Linked DNA regions of Homo sapiens: regions 1 and 3 are each linked to region 2. The links are contacts of gene promoters, found by promoter capture Hi-C in human tissues and cell types (Jung and others, 2019). All regions are on one chromosome and are shown on one strand. The core of a region is centred on a gene start or on the middle of the fragment in contact, and the rest is flanking DNA. Distances in the headings are between cores, read along the strand shown. Region 1 overlaps UTP15 (UTP15 small subunit processome component). Region 2 holds the start of FAM169A (family with sequence similarity 169 member A). Region 3 overlaps F2R (coagulation factor II thrombin receptor).

Region 1 (2,700 bases), core at 49-2,548, 1.3 Mb after region 2:
CTTTTGAGGCCACATTATCTCCTTTCTCTAGTACTAGCAGCTATTTGCTGGGTAGTGGCATTTCAATCAAGAGAGTCACAGAAAAAGAGACAAGCCTACTAGATCTCAAATAACTGATTTTCAAAAGCTGCTGCAGATCTCTTAGGTAGGAGTAAAAGGAGTATGAGCTAAATTTCTGGGGTTAAATAAGATGGCACAGGGCTAAATACATAAGAGCTAAATTTCTGGGGTTAAATAAGATGGCACAGGGCTAAATTTCTGGGGTTAAATAAGATGGCACAGGGCTAAATAAATAAGATGGCACAGGGCTAAATACACAGAGCTCTCGAGTTCTGTGATTTCAGATCTGCCACTTACCACTTTGCCTTGAAAAATAAGTTAAAACTTTTATTTCATTGCTGTAAAGTAGGGAAAAAGCTAACTACCTTGTAGCATCATCTAGGGCATTAGAGTTCATATGTAACAGCACAGTGCCTGGCTCACATTAGGTACACAATAAATGATAACTGCTTGCCAGTCCTACCTATCAACTGTTTGAACAAAGACTTAGATATGCAATTCAAATGCACACTGATAAATTACAAAGAGCAACTGATTTTAAACAAACGTGATTCAAAACCAACAATATTGGTGAAAGCTATTTTTAAGAAGTACCTGCTGACACCAGAAGACCTCCAGAGGGGAAAAGTAGGACACTCTCCACTGGCTGCCCATGCTCAACGGAGAGAACACTCTCACTCGTTCGTGCATCAAACATCTTCACAGTATGATCATATGATCCTAAAATGTCAATTTTTGAATTTTTAGTTTGACTGTTTAAAACAACAAAAACTGTGTGTATCCAGATATAAATTTTAAAAGGAAAAAAAGCTTAGATGGAGTTTTAAAAAGACATATATGTATATTCATGAAGACACAGGACCTCCAAACCATCTACTACTGATCGTGTCTGAAGAAGCACTACATAATACTATACAGAATCTAACTTGCTCTGATCTTAAAATATTTCTTTCTTTGGACTACTGTCACTACTGAATCATCTGGAAATCTTTGTAAAGGCACCCACAAAGGCTAAACTGCACTCTTTGTTTCTTGGCTGCTTGAGGCAGGGTACTATACATTACAGTTCTGAGAGTCTATTATGTTTTCAAGACAGCCTGATTTTTCCAAACACATTTGGAAGACATGAACAATCAACAAAAGAAGAATAAGAAAATAAAAAACAATTGGAAGCCAGGCATGGTGGCTCACACTTGTAATCCCAGTCCTCCGGGAGGAAATTGAGGTAGGTGGATCACTTGAGCCCAGGAGTTCGAGACCAGCCTGGGCAACATGGCAAAACCGTCTCTACAAAAAAATACACAAAGTAGCTGGACGTGGTGGTGGGCACCTGTAGTCCCAGCTACTTGGGAGGCTTATGTGGGAGGATCACTTGAGCCCAGGAGGTAGCAGATGCAGTGAGCTATGGTCACATCACTGCACTCCAGCCTGGGCAACAGAGTGAGACCCTGTCTGAAAATAAATGCAAACATACATACATAAAAATTAATTTAAAAACTGAAGAATTAATCAGAAACATATTCCTTTATAAAAAAAATTTAAACCCCTCCATCCCAAAAGAGTCCCATAGCAACATTAAAGTACATCCCCGTGAGATTATTTGCTTCAGGAGGGAATAGAGTTCACCAACCTGTTATAAAGAGATCCGGATTAAGTTTGCTAGCACATCCACACCTCACATAATCAGAGTGTTCTTTAAATGTCAAAATTTCTTTGGAGTTTGGAATATCCCATAATTTAACTGTATAATCATCAGCCCCAGAGACCACGTGATATTTGTCAGCTGTAAAATCTACTGTATGAACTGCTCTGAAAGATTGAAGGTCAGTATATTAAAAAGCAAGAAAATTATTTTTCTGATACCTTCTAACATAAAATGCTCCTTTTTCTCAGATTAAAAAAAAAGCAGCTGAGTTTCAGGGAGTCTTCATAGGGGGAAATCATGAAAGAAAGAGAAAACTTACAAGTGTTTGCCCCCAAACCAATTAAGAAGTGTAAATACTCCTATATTGTAAAGTTAAAAAAAATTAAAGGATAGCCTTAAAATTATATTTTCTAGTATATAAACAATTCCACTTAGCTGCTGAATATGGAAGCAAAGGCACTTTAATTTTTAAAATTTCAAAAAGTTCTTTAAAAAACTCTAAAGAGATTTACCACTAAATAGAATCATGTTACATAAATTTCTGTTAAATTTTAACAAATTTCAGCACGGACATTGGCAATCCTGAAAACAAAGTTATAATATAAAATTGTGATGGCCACTTAATTTATTAAGGGGCAAAACACTATAAATTCAAGAAGAAAATCCACCTTCCTACTTGACTTCAACATAAGAGCCTCTAAGACAGTACAGGCCTATAGAGCTGTCATTACCAGCTGTAAGGTTGTCTTCAGGTCAGTAATTCATAATCTCAGCTGGGCCACAGACCCCACTAAAGTTAACCAAAAGCTACAGAGTAGCTCCCTAGATAAACGTGTATTTCCTAAAATATCACATACAATTCTAGGGAATTCATAAGCCCCATGAAACTGGACCACGGAACCCAAGTTAAGCACTCTTAGAACAATCAGGAAATATAGTACCTATAGGCAAATAATCTCCATAAAACTGATCTCTATCTTTTTAACCAAAGTCCA
Region 2 (2,700 bases), core at 151-2,650:
GGCATAGTCTGGTAGCCAAAGCTTCCCCAAATGGCAATTGTTTGGGATTACCCTGGGGACTCCTACTTACACATAGCTCTAGAAATGTAAATACAAGTCATATAATTTCATTCATCACTGGCTATGGGTAGAACCCAACTACCCAAAATTCCTGCTCTATTAAATCTAATTCATTAAGTTTCATTAAAATGGTAAATGATGTGTAATAGTAAAGATTTTGGCTAATTAAATATTATACAAATGAAACAATAGATTCTTATATGGCAGAAAAGCTTTTTTTAAAAATCAGGGTCAAATATATCTATATCAACAAGCATTCTTTGAAGTATTTTTTGATCTTGCTAATTTTGCTAATCATTAGTAAATTCGTGAAAGTTGGTATTGTGATTGCTAAATATTTCCCAGGAATGAAAGAAGCAATTTTCAACTTTTCTGGATGAGCTGAACATAATACTACGGTTCTTGGATGATGAGTAAAAGAAAGTCTTGACATTAATACTTAGATACAATATTGTTTCTCAATACAGTTATTAAATATATTTAGACTACAATACGCATTACCTTAAAGACAATTTATCATGTTTTAAATGCTGGAGGGCTAATTTTCAGTAGGAGTGTGTAATTAGCAAAGGCGCCAGAGGCCATAAGACGGTAGAATAGAGCTGGGAGAGGCACGGGAGGAAAGCCGGATGGAACCCTGTTGTCTTTCTGGGTCAGGGTTATTCTGTACCGGTTAAACGGTGAAAGAGAAAAGGTCAGCGCAGGAATGTGGTATTTCCCTGACATCTCCAGATGAAAGTCCGGGCTCTAGGACTTCTGTAGACTGTGAAAGCAGCCCACGATTCTAACTTGCATGCACCTAAGTGGCAGTAGGTTTAGGATGAAAGTGGTGGGGCGGAGGCCGGCGGTCCTCGCCCGTGCCCTCTGCACCCCTGTCCCGAGGCCGGGATGGCCGCGCCCACTCTGGGTAAATTTCAGGAGGGCCTACGCGGGGCTGGAGAACTCCACCGGGCTATGCGAACAGAATCCTGCGAAGGTCGGCATTAAAGGAATACGCAAAATCAGCGTTGCAGCCCCCGCGGCTTAACCGCATCTATTTTTATATCTAAGCCAAGGTCACTCTTTAATACCAGGCCATTGCCCTGAGCTGGGCGTCGCGCTGCCGGGTGACGGCGGCCGGGGCGGAGAGAGGGGGCGCGGGTGGCGAGGCGGGGGCCGCGTGACGCCCCCGGGCTGGCCAAGCCCGCACCTGCCGGGCCGGCGCCTGAAAGCCGGGGCTGGAGGGAGGCAGGGCGGCGTCCCAGGCTCCGAGGAGGGGCCGCTCCGCGCTGGCGGGCGGGGGGATTCGCGGTGGGCGCGGGCGCGGAGCGGAAGCGAAGGCTGGAGGCGCTGCGGCGCTAGTGCGTCACGTCGTCGGAGGGCACGGTGGGCCGCGGCCGACCCGCGACGAGGAGCCGGGCGTCCGGGGCGAGCGGGAGGCAGCCGCACTCGCCCTGGCAGCCGCGAGCTGTGCGGCCTGGGACCGGCCGGAGGTCGCCAGCGAGCAGCCGCCGGCTCCATTCATTCGCGCGGCTCCGCCTCCTTTCCCGGGCTCTTCCAGCGGCTCCCGGGGCGCGTCTGAGGTGAGTGCGCTCCCTCTCCCCGGCGCGGACCGCTGGGTGAGGCCGAGACGGCCGCGCCGGGCCCCGCGCCCCCGCCAGCACCAGACCCGCGGACACCGAGCGGCGACGCGGGCCACCGGCTGTGGGCGGCCCCTGCGGGCTGGGCCTGGCGCAGACCAGTGCGGGCCGCCTGGACCCGGGGCTCGCGTCCAGCTGGCGGCGGTCTGCGGGGATCCCGTAGGGCGTGTGGCGCCCCCAGGTGCGCCGGCCTCCGCCTCGGCGCCACCATTTTGTGTGAGGGAATGCCCGTCTTCGCTCGCCTCCGCCGCGGGCCGGTTCGCAGCTGCGGCTTGCCGCCCCCTCCCCTCGCCCTCTCCCCACCTGGATGCTTGGCGTGCGAGCTGATTGCTTTGGCTTGGGGAGACGCGGACTCGGGGAGGTGTGGAACTTCAGCGTTTAGACTCGGTTCACCCGACCAGGTGGCCTCCAGAGATGCTCTGACCGCCTTCCTTTACCTGTAACTACTTTTGGAACAGATATTGTATGATTCTCCCTCCTCTGGAATGCTGGTCGTTGCAGTTTTGTCCTAATTGTGTTCTCAGCTCTCCATTATGCCATTTTTCAAGAGGCCTGTGCCTCAGGAGGTGAAGCCTTGAACCCTGGGTGGTTTATGGCTCGGGGGTCTGGATTACACTGACTCCCATGACTGTCCTTGGGGAGAAAGGATGAAGCATCTCACTGGCTTTTCAGCGTCTGGGAAGCGGCGTGGGTATCGTATCGGGTGGATTCGAAGATAACCACCTGATGCAGGTCACCTTCCCCCGCTGGGAGAGCCGTTCCTAACGTAAATTAAAACGTGTGTACGGGTTTTTGGGGGATTGGGACCGGAGGGACATATTTCTAAAAAATTTCCAGAAGGGAAAGTTTTCATTGTGATTCTCACAGAACTGTGACACAATTTGTCATTTTCAAGGTTCCTGAGAATTTGGGAATTCTTTTAATTCGTTGGCTTCTTGCGAATTACTACTTACGAACTGAGCAGATTATACCCAAGCCATTTATATTTTGTCATTGCATCACAGACAGGGATTACAATCGG
Region 3 (2,700 bases), core at 198-2,697, 1.9 Mb before region 2:
AGAAATTTGAATATATTCTCAATAAGCTTAAATTTTCTTAAGAAGGGATTGAGAGAGAGAGAGAGAGCTAATCACTCAATGTCTTTGGCAGAAATGGTGCTGTTTGTTTTATTTTTTCCTTGCATTTGTTCTTCCAGATCCCTTCTCCACGGCAAAGGAAGCTGATCTTTATGGACTACTTCACTCTGGGTATTGGGTTAAGATTAGGATCAAGGGGAGGCCTCCCAAGAGATCAGAGGGTGAGGGAGAGGCGTCAGTGTGTTCCCTCCTGTACCTGGGCCTTGGCAGTAATGGCTTCCCCTGATTGCTAGTCTCTGGGGGGTGCTTCACCAGTCCCCGTTGGTTCCCTTAACCCTGTCTACACCTTTGTAAATCACCTCTTCATTAAATGCTCTTCAGTTAAACCCTTAAAGTGTGCCAGGACCAGAAAGATATAATACTAATTTGTTCCAAAGAGATACCAAGCAAATGTTCACATTTATTAATACAGGTTATGTTTTTAAGAATGAACATAAAAACAGTGACATACTATTTTGTAAGTACATTAATGATATCATATTTTAATATATACAGACTAATAAACAATGACAGTAAATCTTCACTGATTTAGATAAAATGAATAGTCACTAAATTAATAAAACCAGTGCTAGCTTCTACTTACAATACAGTTATATTACTTTTATGTAAGTTATTCTATGGTATTTGGAAATAGTTTGCTCTTTTATTTTTTTATTTTTTATTTATTTTTATTTTTTGAGATGGAGTCTTGCTCTGTTGCCCAGGCTGGAGCACAGTGGCGCGATCTCGGCTCACTACAAGGTCCGCCTCCTGGGTTCACGCCAGTCTCCTGCCTCAGCCTCCCGAGTAGCTGGGACTACAGGTGCCTGCCACCACGCCCGGCTAATTTTTTTTGCATTTTTAGTAGAGACGGGTTTCACCGTGTTAGCCAGGATGGTCTCGATCTCCTGACCTCGTGATCCACCCGCCTCAGCCTCCCAAAGTGCTGGGATTACAGGCGTGAGCCACCGCGCCTGGCCTGCTCTTTTAAATAAACATTTGCCTTGCAACTTTCTATTTTGTTTAAAATGCTACCATTTTTTCGTAAGATAAGAGATATGTTTCAACCTAATTTCCAAATTACTTTGTGAATTCCATGAAGATTTTCTATACTTGATACTTAGGAGGTTAAAAAATGCTTTTAAAGTCTCATTAAGTCTTAAGTAAATGGAAATTATAGAATAATTTTCCTAGATTTCAATGTCAATTCTATTTTCTTCTGTTATTTCTAAGCAGACTGACATGATTGATTCTTAAAAGAAAACCTGATTTGAGCAATCTATTGAGCAAAACATTTGTAAATAAATAGTGCCCAATTAAATCAGACTTATTTTAAAAAATATATGTCCTGTACTGCATTGTTTTCATTAAGTTATAACCACAAGAAATAGTAACCCAAATGTTCAAACTTCTTTAGCTGACAGGCCTTGTTTGTGTGAAACATATTTATTACACATACATCACACTCTATGCATGATCTACTTTGCTCTTGAGGGCAGGTCTCTGTCTTATTCCACTCTGTACACTCAGCACCTATTGGAGTGGCCACAGCGCATAATGGGTGCTTCCATATCAGAACTGACATTTCAGAACAACTACTAGATGTGTTTACACCCAGTGGATGGGCATCCAGAAGTCCATGCCTTCTTTCGTTGTTTTTAAGATGGGTAGAGAAGTCTTTCATGGTCATTACCTCCTAGGATATCACATTCTGCTTTGCCAGTTTCTCATAAACATGATCAGTTCACAGCCAATCCCAGGAGGATGGAGCAAATGTAGTGGCCCCAGTCTCACTGCTGTGAGGCTCAGCAGGAAGGTTTCTGGCCAATCTGTGTCTGACATGGCCCTGGCATGTGTCTGCTGCCTGGAGTCCTCCATCGGGGGCGGACACATGCAGCTCTCAGGAATAGCCTACTCTGAAAGCCAGCCTACATTCACTAGAGGACTTATGCTCAGTTTTGGCTTATGTGTACAGTGTGTAAAATGTAAAAAATACTACCCATATCAAAACAGAGGCTTTTCATCTGTTTCCATAATTTTAGGAATTCAAACTTGGATATGTTTAAAATTGAAAACACTAGAACTTCTACGCACAGATAGTACTAAGTCTTACCTCTTAATAACTTAAACCTTGCCGTCAAACAATTTCAAAATACACTTATTTGCAAAAGTGGTACAAGCCCAAACTATGGAGTCTCTCACTGTTGATGAACACCATGAAATGTTCAGGGCTAAACTCTACCAACCTAGACTTTGCATATTAAATCAGGGAATCAGAGATTATTTTCATAATTGCTGGGGTGCGGGGAAAGAGTGTTTTAAAGTGCCTATTCTATACTGCACTGCAAATAATATATGTGTGTGCATACATCTACATATACACACATGTAAGTATGTATATGTCACCTAGCTATATCCAGAAGTGACATTCATTTATTACTGTAGCATTGGCAATATTCCCTTGGAATAACACCGTCATCTCGTCCTGTTATCTTTCTGGTAATTGACAAAAATACATGCTTGACAGCTCCCATAAAAAGCAGGTATGCAAGTCGTACATCTGTTGTTTTAGGAGGTGAATCAATAAAGTTTGGGTGGGGACTAATAGAATCCTCAGGTTATTCACTTTTATAAACTTTTCTT

What was found. Contacts are between HindIII fragments. The study calls those that stand out against the background at their distance.
Region 1: a fragment that was not itself captured here is called in contact with the fragment with the promoter of FAM169A in region 2 in 1 of the 25 tissues and cell types used here (heart left ventricle).
Region 3: a fragment that was not itself captured here is called in contact with the fragment with the promoter of FAM169A in region 2 in 1 of the 25 tissues and cell types used here (hippocampus).

Annotation. Positions count from the first base shown.
Region 1 is chr5:73,568,666-73,571,365 of GRCh38, reverse strand. UTP15 (UTP15 small subunit processome component) reads right to left here. Exons shown (of 13, transcript NM_032175.4): 5 at 1,691-1,869; 6 at 655-780. Among named protein-coding and RNA genes, the nearest start is that of UTP15, 4.3 kb to the right of the region's middle. The HindIII fragment of the contact is 7,294 bases long and covers 1-2,700 here.
Region 2 is chr5:74,865,087-74,867,786 of GRCh38, reverse strand. It overlaps FAM169A (family with sequence similarity 169 member A), which reads left to right and starts at 1,400. Exons shown (of 13, transcript NM_001376049.1): 1 at 1,400-1,622. It overlaps FAM169A-AS1 (FAM169A antisense RNA 1), which reads right to left and starts at 1,894. Exons shown (of 1, transcript NR_134288.1): 1 at 512-1,894. RefSeq lists silencers at 1,464-1,713, 1,784-1,953. The HindIII fragment of the contact is 6,065 bases long and covers 1-2,700 here.
Region 3 is chr5:76,733,529-76,736,228 of GRCh38, reverse strand. F2R (coagulation factor II thrombin receptor) reads right to left here. Exons shown (of 2, transcript NM_001992.5): 2 at 459-2,700. Among named protein-coding and RNA genes, the nearest start is that of F2R, 19 kb to the right of the region's middle. The HindIII fragment of the contact is 3,178 bases long and covers 1-2,700 here.